Linked DNA regions of Homo sapiens: regions 1, 2, 4, 5, 6 and 7 are each linked to region 3. Evidence: promoter capture Hi-C in human tissues and cell types (Jung and others, 2019). All regions are on one chromosome and are shown on one strand. Each heading gives the region's core, a stretch centred on a gene start or on the middle of the fragment in contact. The rest is flanking DNA. Distances are from core to core; before and after follow the strand shown. Region 1 overlaps LOC102724080 (a long non-coding RNA gene). Region 2 has its middle 20 kb from the start of TUT7. Region 3 holds the start of CTSL (cathepsin L). Region 4 overlaps TUT7 (terminal uridylyl transferase 7). Region 5 overlaps LOC102724080 (a long non-coding RNA gene). Region 6 has its middle 150 kb from the start of LINC02834. Region 7 has its middle 51 kb from the start of TUT7.

Region 1 (2,700 bases), core at 76-2,575, 1.2 Mb after region 3:
GACATGGAAGGGAAAGTAATTTGTCTTGGTTACGAGACTGTGTAGGGAGGAGGAAGGAAGGGTCTCCTTTTCAATGGAGGATCACTTGTTTGCACAGTTGCATTGTGAAAACAACTGAGAATGCCTCAGTAGTCTAATTCTGTCATTCACAAAGAGGAGTTCACTGTGGCTTATCTAATAGCCCACCTGTCCTAGGCTTACAGCCAGTCTAGCCCAAGCTGGGCATTATCAGGAACCTCTAGGTATTAGCAAAGAACCTGCTCTGACATGCCCAGCCTAGCAGGCTTGGTGTGACAGAAGATGCAGAAGGAAGAAAGATTCTTCCTCCTCCAAGTTTTCCATTGGTTATAACTATAAGATAAGGAACCCCGCAGGCTTGGTGCACTCCATTCTATCTGAGAGAGAGCTGACAGGGTGCTTTTCAAGTCCTTGAAAACAACAAAACATTTTCTGTAACTCCTCACTAAACAATGTCTGGGCCTGATGAAAGGGAAGAAATGTTCTGCAGCTGTACTGCTCTGAGGGTTCCCAATCATCAGGTCAAGGTCAAATGCAGAAATCTCTGTCTGGTCTAACAGAACCCTAAGATGGCTGCCTCCACCACACTCCTCTCCCCGGAATCCTAGTTGGCGTGGAAGGAGGATAGCTGTTGGGAATTTCCTCTTCCCAGCTCCCTTGAAGGGTGCCCCACCTATACATAGGTGTGTGGTCAGCTTCACAGAAATGAAAAGTGGTTATTCCTCACACAAGGGTTGGGAGTAATTACTTCTAAGGAAATATAATACTCAAGAAAAAGAGGCACTCAGATGAGAACGGTGCCTAACCCCTGACCTCTGTGGGGAGCTGCATGGCTACAGTGATGCAGTAGTGCAGGGTGACCAGGCACATATGATGGGACACCTGTCCTAATTCATTCATTGAGCAAACACTTATTAAGCATCTGCCATATGCCTGGCATCACCAATGCTCAATTTTTCTCACCAAACCTTTTGAGAAGCTGATTCTCAAGTGTGAAGTAATAACAAAGAAAAAGACAGGAAGGGCCCAAAGTTGTACAAGTTGCAAGTCGTGACTGCACAAGAGGACCCAACCAGGCAAGTGACTGGGGACTAAAATCCAACCCACGCTCCTGTTGCTAATGTAGCTACCCATACAGAGGGCTGCATTCATGCAAGGGATGCACCTTTTCCTAATGTGCAAAAAATACTGTCTAGTCCAACAGAGACTCTGTGCAGAAGATATGGCATATGGTCAGACGCCTGCAGGCTGCAGTTGCCCATTATCAACTCTTTCCCTAAGAATAGATGAATGAATTTGTCGTTGCCTCATTTTCCTGATCTGTAAAACAGAGTCAATAGTGTTTGTGCTTGCCTTACACCTTGAGACAGTCATTATGAGGTGCAGACTGCGCTCATCAGAAAGAAGATTCTTGGCTGGAGCAGTGGCTCATGCCTGTAATCCCAGCACTTTGGGAGGCTGAGGTGGGCAGATCACTTGAGCTCAGGAGTTTGAGACCAGCCTGGCCAACATAGCGAAACCCCGTCTCTACTAAAAATACAAAAATCAGCTGGGCTTGATGGCGCACTCCTGTAATCCCAGCTGTCTGGGTGTCTGAGGCAGGAGAGTCACTTGAACCCAGAAGGTGGAGGCTGCAGTGAGCCGAGATGGTGCCACTGCACTCCAGCCTGGTGACAGAGTGAGACCCTGTCTCAAAAAAAAAAAAAGAAAAAAGAAAGAAAGAAGATTCTCAAATAATATAATTATATTAAATAATATATAATAACAAATTACATTCAATAATAGAATACATTTTCTTGCGTTCTTCCAAGAGGGTACTATTTATTAGCTATGGATCATCCTATGGTTAGAAAATAAACCCTACTTTGTAGTCCCTGCCAAGGAAAATTAGTGGAAACTCTTATTTTACCAGGCAAGCAATGGTCCTGAAAAGATCTTAGCAAGGCACTAGCTACACAGCTTAATGCCTATTCAGGGATCCAACTAAAACTTCAGTTCTTCACCAACCATACTCTCAAATGTTTTATGGAAACAGAGGTCACAAATAAGGTTACCAGCCAACTTTTGGAAGGAGATGGAGAAGGGACTTTCGTTCCTTGAGGGCAGACAATGTGTTTTTCTCATCCTTGAATTTCAGGACCCAAACTGAAATGTGGGAGCTCAATCAATGTCTGTTGACATTTGTGTTGCGTGGTCAACATGTGCTTCCAAGTATCTGATCACTTCAACGGAGAGATGTGGACTCAGACATTGGATTAGGAGAGCCCTAAATAATTCATACAAAATAATCTAATTTGGTTAGGCCTGCAGAAAAGGAACTTCAAGTCCCATGTTTAGAAACTTCTTTGTATCTAACCTAAATCTTGCATGTTCCTCTAGTTCTAGCATTAAAGGAGTAAAAAACAAAAATGCTATGAAATCATGACTCTGATTCTGCTTATCCAGGCTATGTATATGGTCTCAGTCCATTTTCTGTTGCTTATAACAAGATAACTGAAACTGGATAATTTTTGAAGAAAAAGAATTTATTTCTTAGTTATAGAGGCTGAGAAATCCAAGGTTGACGGGTCTCATCAGGAGAGAGCCTCTCTGCTGATGGTGAAGCAGGATATTTCCCTGACCCCTTCACAGCACTCAAAAGGGGATGCCTCATTCACTCAGCCTGCAGCTCTCAACTCCTCA
Region 2 (2,866 bases), core at 184-2,683, 1.4 Mb after region 3:
TGTCTCAAAAAAAAAAAAAAATCATATCAGGTATCTTATCTGACCACAGTGTAGTAAAACTAGGCATCAATAACAAGGGGAACATTTAAAATTATACAAATATACGAAAATTAAGCCACATGCTCCCTAATGGCCAATGGGTCAAAGAAGAAATTAAGCAGGAAATCAAAAAAATTCCTTGAAGCAAATAAAACTAGAAACACAACATATCACTCTTTTCCATGGCTCCGCGGAGGCATTCAGCTACTTCAAGATGAAGCTGAGCATCTCCTTCCCAGCCACTGACAGCCGGAAACTCATTGAAGAGGAACTCAAACTTCGTACTTTTTATGAGAAGCCTATGGCCACAGAAGTAGCTGCTGATTCTCTGGGTGAAGAATGGAAGGATTATGTGGCCCAAATCAGTGGTGAGAACTACAAACAAGGTTTCCCCATGAAGAAGGGTGTCATGACCCATGGCCGTGTCCGCCTGCTACTGAGTAAGGTCCTCTTACAGACCAAGGAGAACTGGAGAAAGAAAGAAAGAAAATCAGTTTGTGATTGCATTGTGGATGCCAATCTTAGCATTCTCAACTTGGTTATTGTAAAAAAGGGAGAGAAAGATATTCCTGGACAGACTGATACTACGGTGCCTCATTGCCTGGGGCTCCAAAGAGCTAGCAGAATCCTCAAACTTTTCAATCTCTCTAAAGAAAATGATGTCCACCAGTATGTTGTAAGAAAGCCCTTAAACAAAGAAGGTAAGAAACCTAGGACCAAAGCACCCAAGATTCAGCATCTTGTTACTCCACATGTCCTGCAGCACAATCGGCGGTGTATTGCTCTGAAGAAGCAGCGTACTAAGAAAAATAAGGAAGAGGCTGCAGAATACACTAAACTTTTGGCCAAGAGCATGAAGGAGGCTAAAGAGAAGCCCCAGAAACAAATTGCCAAGAGATGCAGACTTTCCTCTCTGTGAGTTTCTGCTTCCAAGCCTGAATCCAGTCAGAAATAAGATTTTTTGAGTAACAAATAAGATCAGACTCACATCTCTCTTGACTTTTCATTGATGATAGACAACTACATAAATGAAGAGAGGGAAACTTAGGTCATAGAAAATGGGGATATGTATATAGTAATCCAGTCATGGATAAAATCAGACTGACTATTGTGTGGTAGAAGAAGACAAGATCATAATAAAGGGATTCTTTTGGGTGGATGGGTGGTGCAGGAAGGGATTCTGAGCATAAGACATCTGCCTCTTCAGAAAGGCATGGAACTTAGGGGAAATAAATGAAGAGGACTTTTAATCTTTTTTATATAGTTTATTTTGAGGAATATAGCTCTTTAAAACACTATACACAGTTTAATACATGAAAATTGCCCTTGGGAAGATTAACAGTGTTTTTTTAGAAAAGCTAACTTTTAAGGCATAGTTTCAGTGGATAGCATCTTAAAATACTTCAGGAAGTTTTGTAAACCAGTGCAAATTTGCTTTAACAAAGCTTTTCAACTCAAAAACAAAAGAAAGAAAGAAAGAGAGAAAGAGAAAGAAAGAAAGGCAATGTATCAAAATTTGGCTGCATGCAGTGACTCATGCCTGTAATCCCAGCACTTTGGGAGGCTGAGGCAGGTGGATCACGAGGTTAGGAGTTCAAGACCAGCCTGGCCAACATGGTGAAACCCCCATCTCTACCAAAAATACAAAAAAAAAAAATTAGCCAGGTGTGGTGGCAGACACCTGTAATCCCAGCTACTTGGGAGGCTAAGGCAGGAGAATTGCTTGAACCTGGGAGGTGGAGGTTGCAGTAAGCCAAGATCATGCCACTGCACTCTAGCCTGGGTGACAGAGCAAGACTCCATCTCAAAACAAACAAAACAAAACAAAACAAAAAACAAAAAAAAATCTTATGGGACACAACAAAAGCAGTATTAAGAGGCAAGTTTATAGCAATAATGCCTACATCTAAAAACTAGAAAGATTTCTAAGATTTCTAATAACGTAATGGCACCTCAAGGAACTAGAAAAGCAAGAACTCAAAATTAGTAGAAGGAAAGAAATAACCAAACCCAAAATTAGTAGAAGGAAAGAAATAATAAGAACAGAGCAGAAATAAACAAAATGGAGACTTAAAAAAAAACACAAAAGATAAATGAAACAAAAATTTGGTTTTTGAAAAGATAAACAAAATAAAAAAACCATTAGCTAGACTAAGAAAAAAAGAGAGAAGATCCAAATAAATAAAATCAAAAGCCAGAAATGAAGATATCACAATGGATACCATAGAAATATAAAGACTCATTAGTGACAACTATGCACAATGATGTGCCAATAAATGAGAAAGCCTGGAGGAAATGGATAAATTCCTGGACACATGCAACCTACTGAGAAGAAATAGAAAACCTGAACAAATCAATAACAAGTGATGAGATTGAATCACTAATAAAAAGTGCTTCAACAAAGAAAAGTCCAGGACCAGATGGCTTCACTGCTGAGTTCTACCAAACCTTTAAAGAATTTTTTTTTTGAAACAGAGTCTTGCTCTGTTGCCCAGGCCTGAGTGCAATGGTGTGATCCCAGCTCACTACAATCTGCCTCTCAGATTCAAGTGATTCTCCTGTCTCAGCTTCCCGAGTAGCTGGGACTACAGACGCATGCCACCACACCCAGCTTATTTTTGTATTTTTGGTAGAGATGGGGTTTTGCCATGTTGGCCAGCCTGGTCTCGAATTCCTGACCTCAGGTGATCCACCCTCCTCAGCTTCCCAAAGTGCTAGGATTACAGGTGTGAGCCACTGCACCCGGCCAAATCTTTAAATGATTAATACCAATTTTTCTCATACTTCAAAATGTTGAAGCAGAGAGAATTCTTCTTAACTCATTCTA
Region 3 (2,865 bases), core at 360-2,859:
TGCCGTATAATCTGTTGTGCATCGCCTTCCACTTGGTCCACTGTGCCTCTAAACTGTGATCAAATGTTAGAGTAGCTGAGGCAATTCCCAGGCAAAAGGCAGCAAGGATGAGTGTAGGATTCATGTTTTAAAACCTAGGAAGGGAACAAAAATGAGGATCTGATTAGACCAATCCTAAAAAGCCATCTTACTGCCCCCTGAAAAATTAGGGCCACCATGGTAGAATAAAAATATTTAAATTATTCTCCCAAGCATTTACCCAAGGACTGTGGAAGAGGCCAAGGATGTGCCTGGAGAAAAACAGGGCACGTGGAGGTACTGGATGGACTCACCAAAATGAAAAGCAGCCTGTCCAGAGCTGTAGGAGCTGAAACAGTTTATGCGATGACAATTTAGGTTATGAGAACGGTATGAAACTACCTTGTGTGTGAGAAGCTTAAGGCAACAACTAGGAAACCGGGAAACGGTTGATCCAGGTTTTGTACCAATCGCAAAAAATCCAGGTTTCGTGCCCAGGCAAAACCTCACTAATGATAAGGTGGGATTCCCAAGTAGGGACAAAGAGATCCCCAAGAGTTAGGAGGCCTTCACACATCTTCCTGACTAACAAACACCAAAAGCTGAGATAAGTTTTCCAATCTCTCCTATTTATTTATTTATTTATTTATTTATTTATTTATTTATTTTTTGAGATGGAGTCTTGCTCTGTGGCCCAGGCTGGAGTTCAACGGCGCGATATCGGCTCACAGCAACCTCTGCCTCCCGGGTTCAAGCCATTCTTCCTCAGCCTCTTGAATAGCTGGAACTACAGGCGTGCGCCGCCTCGCCCGTCTAATTTTGTATTTTCAGTAGAGACGGGGTTTCACCATGTTGGCCAGGCTGGTCTCGAACTACTGACCTCAGGTGATCCGCCCACCTCAGCCTCCCAAAGTGCTGGGATTACAGGAGTGAGCCACCGCGCCGCCCCAACCTCTCCTTAAATGAAACCTTTCTGAAATGCTTTCCCAGGAAAAACTGGGAAGGAGAGCACGCACTGCTCCCTCCTTCATTCACTTGGGCCTGTGCTGCCGACACCCCAAACTGCTCCCCTAAATCAGGGACGGGGTCATATGGCCGCACGCGGGAAGCCAGCGCCCTGCAGCCAGCTTCCAGGGCTCCAGGCGTGGCAGGGCCGGGGACATGACGCCTGCGCCACACACTGGCTGTAGCGGTCAGAGGATGTTTGCGGTGACGCCAGCAGGAGTACCGCTGTCTGGCGTGCGGGGACTGAGCTTCCCTGTCTGGCCGGGCCAGGCCCTGAGTCGGCGCGGCGCGGCCTGGCTGCGGTACCTGTGTCCACCCGGCTCGGAGGCTGGCCTGCCCGCTCAACCAGTCACGCGCCTCCGCGGGGTCCTCAACTGCCCTCCCCGGCTTCCCCACCTCAAGGCCAGCAGAGTTCGGGGTAGACGCTCTCGTTGCCAGGGCTGGTGCACACCTACTCGACCGCGTCCTCTCTTCCAGTCCCTGTCCGGCCACAGCTGGGCCTGGCCGGCGGCGCTTTCCTGCTGCGGTCGTAGCTGCGCAGGCGCACTCCACGGATGCCGCTCAAGGTTGCGGAGGTCGCGGTTCTGGCCCAGCTTCGCCTGACTCTGCTTCTAAAACCTCGGGTCTGGGTTCGGCCGGCACCGCCCCGCCGCCTGGCTGCGCTGCGATTGGCTGTGCCGGCAGCTGGGCGGGGACTCTGGGTGCTCTGATCCCTGGCGCGGTTCGTGGCTTGTTTACTGACTGTCCCAGAGCTGGGCGTGCCTGCCTCAGTGGACCTGGAGGAAGCAGAGCTGGTGCCCCGGGGCGGCGCAGAGTAGGGTCGGGCGTCTCCCTGGAGCGCTCGAGTCAACTAAGTACACGACTTACTGCACTGGGCGAGTGGCTCCTGAAAAGACGTTTACCGCAAGCCCTGTGTGGACTGTTTCAGCCTAACCTTGCTATTCCTTAGTCCTGGAATTTTTGGTCCGCAGAGCCGAGAGTCAAGTGTACTCTAGTCCAGTGGCTCCTGTTTAGTCCACAGCAAACGTGGGGCCGGGTGGACGAACGCAGAGCCCGCGGGCAGAAGCCTTATCTCCCACTTAAGGGTGGGTGCAGCTGGGCTTTAGAAGAATCTGGTAAGGAAAGGCATCCCCAAAACACGAGATGCTATCGTCAAGACCAGACCCTAGGAGGGAGGAGACTGGCTGCGTCTCCAGAGAGCGCGGGCGTTTTGTCAAGCATCCTTTCCAGACTCCTCCATTCAGGGATTCTTCCTTCTCCCACGTCTTACCCAAAACCAACAGAAATGAGTTATTTACAGAAACATTTGGTTGACAGGAGAAAAGCAGTTGAGAACATTAGAAGCTGCTTTTATTCGCCCACTCTCTAGGCTATGGATTATATCTTCCTTGGTAACCAAGTCGTTCTCTTGAGATTTAAGAAATTTAATGACATTTAATGTCAGGATTTAAGATACAGAGAATGGAGAAATGTTGTAGATAGAGGAAAAATATGTATCTTAATCTGTATAATGTAGATATTAATTTATGTAATTAAGGATTTAAGGAACAAAACCCACAAACATTCTAAACTTTTGTCATTTCATTTTTTATTACATAAAAACATTCATTGTAGAAAATACCTTTCGGGGAAAAAAATAATTACCTCTGCCTTTACCCCATAACCTTTTCGTATGCATATTTTGACTTTGTTAAAAATGAACAAAGTCCATTGATTTCTATTGAAGATTAAACTGATAACTCTTTTAGAAGCACAATCACCTATAGTTTTTTAAGTGGTAAAATATACCTCACATAGCAAGTACCATTTTAACCAACTTTGAGTTCAGTAGCATTAAGTACC
Region 4 (2,700 bases), core at 198-2,697, 1.4 Mb after region 3:
TATCCTTTTGTTGTCATGGCAGCTATGGATACCATTAACAGTGAAAAATCTTCTTTTAAAATGTAGTTCAGCAAACTTCTGTGCTAAGAGCTGAAAATGAAAGTGAACAATATATGGCCCCTATCCTCAGGAACTTAAAATCCATGGTCTGTCCATGAAAAGTTTTTGTACATTTCGGTTAGGAACAGACTTTAAGTCACAGCATGAACGTGCACACACACCTAGACACACACATATATACACCTTGGGTGCCACTTTTCTTTGAAATTTTTTCCCCAGGAGTTAATAAAGTACATACCATGTTGTTTAAATAACAGGAGGAAAAAAAATCTTAATTTTGGTTTATTCCCAATAAAAATTAACCTAAAGTATACAGAAATTGGGTTAGGCTTTGTTTTTTTAAATGTACATTGATTTGTTCACAGAGGGCAGAACAATATAAAAAAAAAAGAAAAAAAGTGCATTGATATACTTTTCTTTGGTCATTGAAGTAAACATTTCCCTTAACTTGGGAATTCCACCTCTAAAGATCATGTGTTTTGTTTTGTTTTGTTTTGTTTTGAAGGTCGTGCAAAGAAACTGAAGTACTAAGTTAGCGTGACTATTAATTTTTTAGTACTGAGCTAGATTTTAACTTTGTGTTTTGAAATAATTTAATTTCACATTTAAAGGAAAGCAGCAAAAGTTGCATAAAGAGTTCCACATATAACTTTTATTCAGATCCACCAATTAACATTTTCCATATTTGATTCATCATTCCATCTTTTGCTTGCTCTCAATTTCTTCCTGTACCATTTGAGATTAAGCTATAGACATTATGTCCTTTCCCCTAAATACCTCAGTATATATTTCCTAAGAAGGAACGATGTTAAAAACAGATCATTTTTAGATTAGAAATGACTTAGGCACACAGATGATTTATAATAATAATGGAATGCAGATTGCCTGGAACAAGAATTTCGTAACAGCTAGAGGGCTGTGTTTAAAACTTCATATCTTTAAAACAGTCTCCCCAGGTATTTTATTGGGTGCCTCCTATGTGCACAGCACTGTGTTGGGCACTTAGGGATGGTGGAAAAGTAAAAAAATCTGTATGTTTTTTTTGTGAAAGCTTCCATATCTTAAGAGGTAAGGTAATCTTCCAAACTATGTAACAATGTAAGGTAATATTCAATTAAATAACTTCTAAGAAGAGAGAATGTGGGAAAGAGTTGCACAGGGGAGGTTGATGGAAGAGATGGAGGTTGCTATGATCTCAGATGATGGTGAACACGATTTGAAAAGGATGGGAAAAGAAATCATTTCTAAGTGCATAGATGTGAATGTGAGACTGTGGGATATTTTGGAGAGCAGTGAGAAGATTGGTACATTTGGAGATTTTCAAATGGGAAATACTAGGAGATAAGATGAAGTCTATAGATATTTGGAAGCACTGAAGTTTCTTCAGGAGGGAAAGGACCCAATAAAAGCATAACATAAGGTTTTTAGGCAGCTGGTGTGGTATTTTAGGGAAGGTATAATGTAGACAACAGGGCAGCAGGACCTCAGCCAGGGTGCCACTGGTGCTAACAGGAAAAAGATATGAGAGATTCCAAGTGGGAAAATTTCCTAGATTTGGTACCTGCAAGTAGGAAGTAAGGATTGAGGTCACTATCTGGGTTATTTGAGAACCAGGAATGTTTGCAGAGAACACCTGTGTGAAAGTGTTTAGTTTGCCATGAGCATATAATCTCCAAGACTTAACATTCCAGAAAACAATTAGAAATATGGGGTTGCCAGTCAGAATTGAAGATGAAAATAAAACAGTTTTTTTGCATTGAAAGCCTTGAAGAAAAAGAGAGAGATTGAGAGAAAGAGACTAGACAGAAATTAAGAAAAGAGACTGAAAAGGAACTGGGAAGATATGCTGTGAATAAATCCGAGACTTTGAAGTGTGGTAATGATCAACAGTGTCAAATTCCAGAATGGGAAGGATGTGAAGAAAAGGGCCTCTGTCTAATTTAGAGGCGAGATAGCAAAGTACTAGGTGGAGGTTCTGGAATCAGACTCTGATTTTAAATTCTGTCTCCCCCTTGCTGGCTGTGCAATCCCAAAAAGTCACTCAGCTTCATAACAAGCACTCAGTTCCTCATCTCTAAAGTGGAAATAACAATTCTATGGCATTTAAGAAAGATAATACGTAAAGTGCAAAGCCTAGCATATTCTAAGTATTCAGTAAAGTGAGCTTCCTTGCCCCCTTTCCCCATCAGATTAAGTTTCATTTCCTCTGTCTGCCACACAGATTTTTTCCTGAAATGTCTTCTACCTACTTATTTTCTCCTGTGTTCTATGATGTGATCACTATGTATCTGCTTTTTAGGAACCACCACTTAGCTCTCTCAGAAGAAACTCAAACTCTGACATCTCAGAATGAGCTTATCTTTCACTTTACCGCTTCCCTTCTGCAGGAACCAACTCCATTAATCTGCCCTTCCTTGTGAATCCTTTTTCATGGTTGTTGATATTGGCATCCTTGGAATCAATAAAACGGGTGAAATGATAATTAGCCTGACCCACACTAGGTTCAGTATAAGTTGGGAGTCAATCTTACCTAGATTTGAATTCCGGCTCCACAATTTACCAGCTGCATATTCCTAAGCTAGTGAATCTTTCTGGGTCTCTGTTTCCTCATCTGTAAGATGAGGGTGATAAACCTAAGGA
Region 5 (2,840 bases), core at 143-2,642, 1.2 Mb after region 3:
TCTCAAACTTTTATCATTTCTTTGTGTTGGGAACATTCAAAATCCTCCTAGCTATTTGGAACTATATCATATTTTACTGTTAACCATAGTCACCCTACAGAGCTGAGGAACACCAGAACCTATCCCTCCTGTCTAGCTATAAGTTTGTATCCTTTTAAAAACCCACTGGAGTATTAAAAATGTCTCACAAGAACCACATTTTTAGGGATGCATTAGCTTACTTTGGCTGCTTTTTAAAAGATTCAAACACATGAAGTTTTTTAAAAATAAACTTCTCTAGAAACCATTTTGACTTAAATGACTATCAGTAGGGAGCTAGTTACATAAATTGTGGTACACCCAGGGCATATGAGTGAGCGTATGTACAGTCACACACACGCATGCACACAGAATGCAATTCTAGATATATTTTAAATTTTTTTAGACAGTGTCGAATAGAACTTACGATAGTTTAATATTTATGTTTTAAAAAGAGATACATATTATACATGATAAAAATGAAAGAATACTACAAATTTGTATATGTAATAAAAGAGGTATTTTATATATGTATGTGTAATATAGTATATACACAAACTATCTCTGGAAAAAACTAGTAACAGTAGTTTCTTCCAGAAAGATATACTAGGAAAATTAGACTAATGGTTGTAGGCAAAAATCTAAGAATTAATGTATATTTTCTTTGGGGTTGTTTAATATTTTTTATTAAAAGAATGCATCACTGTTCTAATTTTTAAAATTTGTGTCACTCTAGTATGTGTTGTTATGTGATTGGCATCCTATAGTATTTTAATTTTTTTTTTTTTTTTTTTTTTTTTGAGACAGAGTCTTGCTCTGTCGCCCAGGCTGGAGTGCAATGGCGTGATCTTGGCTCACTGCAGCCTCTGCCTCCCAGGTTCCAGGGATTCTCTTGCCTCAGCCTCCCAGGTAGCTGGGATTATAGGCGCACACCACCACGCCCGGCTAATTTTTGTATTTTTAGTAGAGACAGGGTTTCACCATGTTGGCCAGGCTGGTCTCAAACTCCTGACCTCAGGTGATCCGCCTGCCGCGGCCTCCCAAAGTGCTGGAATTACAGGCATGAGCCACTGCCCCTGGCCAGTATTTGATCTTTAAAACATAGATGTTTTACAGTGTATACTGTTAAGGAAAATGCCAACTACTAGAAAGTAAACTGGTGTCATTGTATTTTTAAATTGCCTGCCTACTACAGGATGAATAGATTGCAAAATAACACCCAAAATGTGTTCAAGTGAGTTACAAAACTTGCTTTGGCACAAAAAGATACAGACACCCATTGGTGAATAGGTAATATATGTGTCCCCTGTTGTAATGAGAGTACACTTAGGGAATTACTTTATACGCCTTCCCTGGAATTAGTCTCCTGGTGGATAAGAAAAAGGCCTTATTCATCTAATTCCCCCCAAAATTCTAGCTCAATACCTGGCAAATATTAATAGAAGGTGTTCAAAAAATATTTATCAAATAAATAAATTAGATTCACAGCTTGATTTCTTGTCTTTTATAACCAGTTTCTTTGATGTTGAACTTTTTAAAACCTTTAATAAATAATTGCACATCATAAATTGGATGAGGTAAATATAATACACAGCATTTGCCAAACTTGTTTCACCATGAAAAGAAAAACACTTTCCCCACAGAGTCCCTTGCAAGACTAGTTGTAATGAAGCCTAGATAAATAAAAGTGGAAAACATAGCGCTGGCTTTTAATTTACACCTCTCTGTCTCCTAAAAACCAAGGGCAGCAGAGGCCATTAGTGCTCACTGAATATTCCTGGGCTCCCTGCATTTCCCATACTTCTTTATTTTGGGGTCTGGGGCACATGACTGTATCTGGCAAACAGGAATATGAGAGGAATTGATGTACCATTTCCATTGCAAGGCCCTTGGGAGCCAGTGTGTCTCCTTCATCTTTCTTATCTCTTGCTAGAACCACTCTGAAAGTCAAGTGTGGAGATGATGGCCTCACAAGTTAAAGGGAATCCCCAACCACTAGATATGGAAACCCCCTGTCAATTCACATGAGAGTCTGTAGTGAGCAAAGAATATATATTTTGTTGTGCTAAGCCGCCGAGATTTTAGAGTTATTTGTTATGACAACATAATTTAGCCTAACCTGACTAAGCATAGCAATTCATTGTCATGGCATATCCTCATACGACAATTATATAGTGAATGCCTACTACGTGTCAGACGTGATCTTTGAGGTACCTTCTAAAAGTATATTTATAAAGTATGAAAAGAGAAATAAAATATGTACAAGGAAAGTGAAGGGATGAACAGCCTGTCACTCAAATCCTGTAACTTGATGCTTTTCATCTTTGCAAGTCTAGTAATTTCAGAAGAATTTGTCAAATTTTTACATATAAAAATGCAAATTTCCCCCAAATTAACTAGTGTTTTACTGTGTCTGAATTACTCTGTACTTTCCTAAAGACTCATCGCTTTTTCTGTAAGATTAGGAAGAGGTAGGTCCAGAAACATTTCTGTTCTCCTGTTATATCTATACAGGATTCTTAGATTTTTTTTAAAAAAAACTACAAATCCAAAGGGATGAGCTGCAACTGGCCTAATATTTATCAGAAGTTACCACCAGACCTTTTTAGTCAATGCTCTTGTGCCTTTGCCATGGTTAGGCAGTATCTATGTGAATTTTCTGGATTAGGGCTACTTAGTAGATCAGAGCCCTTAACAGAGCTATACTCTCTAATGGAAGAAATAGTCTCAAGATGAAATTCGATTACAGCGATGCACTTTGATTCAATATCTATAACTTCCTTGTGATATGGTAAATTAGGGGGGAAGAAAAATGCTGAGAG
Region 6 (2,700 bases), core at 195-2,694, 1.2 Mb after region 3:
TATTGTAATGGAAGCAACTTCCTTTTTTAAATTCCCATTGAAAGCTGAAGTCTCTCGACATGTTTTGGACAATAAAGTATATTGGTCGGGCACAGTGGCTCACACCTGTAATCTCAGCACTTTGGAAGGCCGAGGAGGTCAGATCACCTGAGGTCGGGAGTTCGAGACCAGCCTGACCAACATGGAGAAACCTCGTCTTTACTAAAAATACAAAATTAGCAGGGCATGGTGGCACATGCCTGTAATCCCAGCTACTCAGGAAGGCTGAGGCAGGAGAATCGCTTGAACCCGGGAGATGGAGTTTGTGGTGAGCCGAGATAGCGCCATTGCACTCCAGCCTGGGCAACAAGAGTGAAACTCCATTTCAAAAAAAAAAAGAGAGAGAGAAAGAAAGAAAAGAAAATACATTATATGAGGCAGGACAAAAGTTATTACCATGAAAGTTTCCACCATCTTTCCTCACTTCTCCTGCAGAACCAAAAGGGAGAGAAAGAGGAGTAGTTTGTTTGTAAAATGATTCTGTTGTGTACATTAACTTCTTAGGGAAATGTGTTGAAACTTAATATATCTTTGCATGAAACTGTACACTAGTGAGCTTTAAAAATCTAACCTATACATGCTGAGGTTTGCCAGTTTATGATAAGCTGACAGAAGTATAAGAACATAGGAAACCACTGATGTGGAGGTTAAGAGGACCATTGTCTTTTCTGTGGTGGTTTCATCCATGGGATTGAGCCGATAAGGAAAGCACCTAATTTCTCATTTATTTGTGGCTGTTCTATACAAACCAACTTCTTTTCCATCCTACTGAACAAACCAAGAAGAAAGAACAGTGAGATAGTGAATACTGCCTGTCCTATGCTCAGAGGATCCCAGAAAGTTTGGCTAGATCAGACCCTGAGGCACAATATCTGCTACCCTTCAATGTAACCTCTCAACACCAACTCCTTTGTGTTATCAAAAAATTGCTTTGTATTATCAAAAGAATGTAGTAACAGTGTCTTCTCATTATCACAGGCTGTCTCTGCTTTATACCAGCCTTTCAAAAACTTCTGCCTTAGGTTTAAACTCAATAAGACTTGGGGGAGCACAAATAATTTGCCAAAATTCTTCTAGTGACTCAGTCGGGCCATTTACTTTGTTTTCTTCTGTTCTTTAACGAAAGTCCACTGAGATTTTCATTGAACTTGGGATAGTTGGAGAGGAATTTTGACCAAAATGAACTGGCTGATTTGGATGCCATGGCGACCAAGGAGGTTGGCATCCCAAGGAAGTGCCAAGGTTGAATGTGGAGGTCATCCTAACCGCTGAGGTGTTTCATGTTTCACCTCGGGCATCTTACAATTCTTCACTGCAACTCTTTCTTATAGAATTTCCTTGCCTTTTACTCAAATAAGCGCATCAAGGTTCATCCTTCCCTGCTCCTTTTTGAAAATAGACTAAAGAAAGAGGGCTTGCTTTTTCAGCCCCTACAGACTTACGGCAGTCACCCAATCCTCTGTCGTCACTATGGCTTAAGTCTGGGCTATGGGAAACTCAGGGCACTGCACTGCTTATACTGACAGTCAGCAAAACACACAGCTTCCTTCTGTCTGTATTTTCTATATTTTACTATCGATATACTCCACGGGTTCGATGAGATTGCCATTCTTCTTGCTTTTTAAGTGTTGTCTTCTCCCTCACACAGACACGATCATCTCTTCACATGTGCATAGTTGTCACATGCATGACAGTGATGTGACACAGCAAAGGACACAGCGCAGGAGAGACCAAGAGCTGCTCAGAGCAGGGACCGCAGCAGCTTCCCCGCCGGTAAAGGAAGCTGCCCTGGTTTTCAAGCCCTTAAGAAGCTATGCCCTTGCCAGAATCATCATCACCCCCACATCAGGGTAAGGACTGGTTAGGCTGTGTGAGAGGTTCACCTTCCTCATTCTCGACAGAGGGACTGTACTCTCCTGGCCCTTGGCTGTATTTACTTTGTGTTATTAGATGTTTATGGCATCTGGCAACTGGCAGCAGAATTGACTACTCTAAAGGGGAAGGCTTGCTGGAGGGAGGACTGATGCTTTAAGTGGCCAATTCATTAATGAATATTTTTATCTTATGGCGGTTCCCTTGACAACCTCATATCTGCAGAGACACCAGTAAAAAATAACTGGGTAATAGGCTGGGCACAGTGGCTCACGCCTGTAATCTTATCATTTTGGGAAACCGAGGTAGGAGGACCACTTGAGCCCACGAGTTTGAGACCAGCCTGAGCAACAAAGTAAGACTCCCGTCTCTACAAAACAAAAAAAATTAATTGGCCCAGCATGGTGGCTGGCTTATCCCTGTTGCCCCAGCTACTCAGGAGGCTAAGGCGGGAGGATCACTAGAGCCCAGGAGTTCACTGATGCAAGTGAGCTATGATACTTCCACTGCACTCCAGCCTGGGTGACAGAGCGAGACATTGTCTCAAAAACAAAAACAAAGACAAACTGGATAATTCAGGACTCCCCACAATCTAGAAAAGTGTTGATTGATTGACATTAGTAGGCCATAAATGTGCCAATGCTCTTTGGCCTCTAGCAGCAACTGTACCGCAGTACCACACAGTATCACTGTATCACAGTACCACACAGTACCACTGTACCACAGTACCACACACTACCGCTGTACCATAGTACCACACAGTACCACTGTACCACAGTACCACACAGT
Region 7 (2,700 bases), core at 117-2,616, 1.3 Mb after region 3:
GGGGAGAAAGTAGAAGGCTGCCCTCAGGCCTGCCAACTAAAAGTCCATATCGCAGCTTCACGAGAGCTGGCCTGGAAGCAGGGCTTAACTAGGTCAAAAATGGGACTTTGATTCCCATCTGGATGTCAGTTTCTTGAGGTGCTTCTCCTCTGGCAGAAAAGGGGGCAGAAATGAGAGGGTAAAGGAGAATGGTCTTATTCCCCTAAAATCACCATGAAATGGTCTTTTAAAAATAAGAAAAGTAGGACACATGTTCTAAAGAAAAAAAATTTTTTCAACTGAACACATTTAGCTTTATACAAAGCTCACCTTGTTTCTTTGTCTCTCATTTTGTCCAAATTGTTAATTTCATAATTATCACTAGTCCATGAACCTGCATTTGAGAAATCTTTGAGAAGCATTCCTCTGAAGTACGTTTTTGCTCTCAAAGTCTGTGACATAAATAACTATCACTTCTGCTTCCATCACCCCTCCCAGAACCCGTCATTGAAAGAAGACTAGAGCAGAAACTACGGTTTAGTGCCTTACAGAATGCTTTGTACAAATAAATACTCAACAAATTTTTAAAATACAGCCTGCCCCCTGTGTCGGGGTGACTCAGGAACCCATCTGACCTAAAGTTCCATCTGTTTTTCTGAATCCAGAGTCCAGACACTCACGTGCAGATGAAAAAAAGTATCAGGAGTGGCACATTCCTGAGCCACACTGCACCAAAGATGATTTCACAATAGGTACCAGGTTTACTTTTGTTTCATGAGTCTGCCTGCAAATTCAAGTTTCTCTGGTTCATCTCCTTTGCATTAGTATGTGTTAATTAAAGTGAAATTAGCACGTCTTCCTGAAGCTCTGGCCCTCATTGTATACACACCAGGACTAACATTAAGCTACCTTCACTTCGTGCTCTCTAGGCATTGGGGTTCTTCAGGGCTCATATTTTTTTCTCTGAGAATTATTAGCTCATTCTGCCTACCATGTTCCCCAGCAGAGAGGGAGGAAGAGAACGCTCTGTGTCCCCCACCCCCACACAAAAAGCCATTCTTTTCTTTGCAAGCAACTGGTACATGTTTTCAGCTGACATGTCCTAGATTGTTCTAAAAAGAGCAGCGGCAAGATAAATTGCAAGAACAGATGATTCAAAGACTCCCTGGGAAGTACCACAGCCAGCTCATAATTACAAATGCAGGGTAGGCGGAACATCTGTATCCTGAGTCACTCTGCTTTTCTAGAAGGGAGAATGTCATTAGCCCTCCTGCTGCAGGAACTTTTGAGATCTGTAAGCAGGTTCCAGAACTGGTTCACGGTGTGCTCTGTCCTCTTGAGGCTGCAAGTGACCCTCTCCCCACCCCCGTACAAATTTAACATACCTTGAAGTCATTATAATTAATTACCAGCTGACTATAGCCCAGAGAGCTTCTAAGTCTATATTTTGAATAATAACTCTGCAAAGGTAATGTGCATGTGTTTTGGGGGGAGAACGATAACCTTAAAAATCTTATAAGTGTTTCTGAGCTTGGTTCTCTAATGCCTGGAATGATACAAATTTAGGGGCATTGCCTTTTATGGGAAGAGATACTAGGAAAAAGTAAAAGGAGAAATGGGTTTTTCTGGAAAACTATAAGAACAATTATCTTAAATGAGAGATAGTTGAGGCTCTGGGGTTAATGAATAAAAAAAGATGATGGCAAAAGAAACATAAGACATTGATGAGTGAAAACAAGAGCTAATAGTTTTGGCAGAGCCAAGTTTACCAGTGTGTTGGCAGGAGTTACTGTTCCTTCTTGTGTGATTTCTTTGAGGACATTGCACTGTTTATACAGAGAGTGTAAACATAGCTGTTGATTTAACTAAACACTGTTTTTTGTTCCCCGTCTCTCACAGCCATGGTAAATAGCCTAATATTTAAGCTCAGAGGCTTTGATGTGAGTTAAGGTAAGATTCAGTTGTGCTGGTCATAGCTGTGCGCCTTAGAACAAACTTCCTACCCTCTCTGAGTCCAGTTTCAAGATTGCTACAGGAATCACAATCCTATCTGTCTCAAAAAGCAGTTTTAAGGATATAATGAGGCAATGTGTATAACCACCAGAGTATAATTTCTGGGACACAGCAAATCCTTAATGAATGTTGGGGTGAAGTGGGGTGGCACTTTGCTGTTGTCAATTTATCTAAATAAAGTCCCCACTTACAAACACCTAGTATAGAATAAAACTAACGGTCTCCAGGGTCAGCGCTAAAACCTCAGACTCTGAACAGTATCACACAAAATGCTTGCATAAGGTAGCTTTTCACAAAGAAATGCGACGAACCCTGGAAGAAAAACTGAGGATAACAGAAATGTCCACTTAGGACATTTAGACAGACCCACTCAAGTGTTTGTGAAGGGAAGATGGCACATTACCATCAGGTCTTTCTGAGCTGGCCGCAGGTCCTATCCGGGGATTCTAGAAATTAAAATGGCCTGACATGAGTCTGATTTTGCCCAAGCATCCTCACAGGACCTCTTGAGAATGTAATCATTCTACTACTTTGTCTGAGGGTAGAAACAGGGAAACAAGGGAAAGCTGGAAAGTGATTGTAGGAAGGCCCCGTAATGGGACCATGGTAGGAGGAATGTGTCTCAGGAAAGGTGAGAAAGTTATTCTCACTTCCTCTCATCATTCTCTTCATCAACCTCTCCTCAGACGGCATGGGCTAGGGCACTGG

What was found. Contacts are between HindIII fragments. The study calls those that stand out against the background at their distance.
Region 1: a contact is called between a fragment that was not itself captured here and the fragment with the promoter of CTSL in region 3, in 1 of the 25 tissues and cell types used here (dorsolateral prefrontal cortex).
Region 2: a contact is called between a fragment that was not itself captured here and the fragment with the promoter of CTSL in region 3, in 1 of the 25 tissues and cell types used here (mesenchymal stem cells).
Region 4: a contact is called between a fragment that was not itself captured here and the fragment with the promoter of CTSL in region 3, in 1 of the 25 tissues and cell types used here (dorsolateral prefrontal cortex).
Region 5: a fragment that was not itself captured here is called in contact with the fragment with the promoter of CTSL in region 3 in 1 of the 25 tissues and cell types used here (lymphoblastoid cells).
Region 6: a fragment that was not itself captured here is called in contact with the fragment with the promoter of CTSL in region 3 in 1 of the 25 tissues and cell types used here (lymphoblastoid cells).
Region 7: a contact is called between a fragment that was not itself captured here and the fragment with the promoter of CTSL in region 3, in 2 of the 25 tissues and cell types used here (dorsolateral prefrontal cortex and lymphoblastoid cells).

Annotation. Positions count from the first base shown.
Region 1 is chr9:86,489,021-86,491,720 of GRCh38, reverse strand. All of the region lies in intron 1 of LOC102724080 (a long non-coding RNA gene), which reads right to left. Among named protein-coding and RNA genes, the nearest start is that of TUT7, 140 kb to the right of the region's middle. The HindIII fragment of the contact is 8,380 bases long and covers 1-2,700 here.
Region 2 is chr9:86,373,094-86,375,959 of GRCh38, reverse strand. It overlaps the pseudogene RPS6P13. Among named protein-coding and RNA genes, the nearest start is that of TUT7, 20 kb to the right of the region's middle. The HindIII fragment of the contact is 5,262 bases long and covers 1-2,866 here.
Region 3 is chr9:87,724,863-87,727,727 of GRCh38, reverse strand. It overlaps CTSL (cathepsin L), which reads right to left and starts at 1,609. Exons shown (of 8, transcript NM_001912.5): 1 at 1,330-1,609; 2 at 1-134. The coding sequence starts at 124. RefSeq lists promoters at 292-712, 292-1,331, 1,536-1,746, 1,585-1,766, 124-1,766 and 7 more, cis regulatory regions at 713-946, 947-1,092, 1,668-1,669, 1,692-1,695, 1,706-1,709 and 10 more and an enhancer at 1,297-1,818. The HindIII fragment of the contact is 7,957 bases long and covers 1-2,865 here.
Region 4 is chr9:86,313,504-86,316,203 of GRCh38, reverse strand. All of the region lies in intron 17 of TUT7 (terminal uridylyl transferase 7), which reads left to right. Among named protein-coding and RNA genes, the nearest start is that of ISCA1, 32 kb to the right of the region's middle. The HindIII fragment of the contact is 3,102 bases long and covers 1-2,700 here.
Region 5 is chr9:86,507,872-86,510,711 of GRCh38, reverse strand. The region is part of intron 1 of LOC102724080 (a long non-coding RNA gene); the gene reads right to left. Among named protein-coding and RNA genes, the nearest start is that of TUT7, 150 kb to the right of the region's middle. RefSeq lists an enhancer at 1,947-2,116. The HindIII fragment of the contact is 5,865 bases long and covers 1-2,840 here.
Region 6 is chr9:86,559,128-86,561,827 of GRCh38, reverse strand. No RefSeq gene overlaps it. Among named protein-coding and RNA genes, the nearest start is that of LINC02834, 150 kb to the left of the region's middle. The HindIII fragment of the contact is 5,218 bases long and covers 1-2,700 here.
Region 7 is chr9:86,404,495-86,407,194 of GRCh38, reverse strand. No RefSeq gene overlaps it. Among named protein-coding and RNA genes, the nearest start is that of TUT7, 51 kb to the right of the region's middle. The HindIII fragment of the contact is 7,780 bases long and covers 1-2,700 here.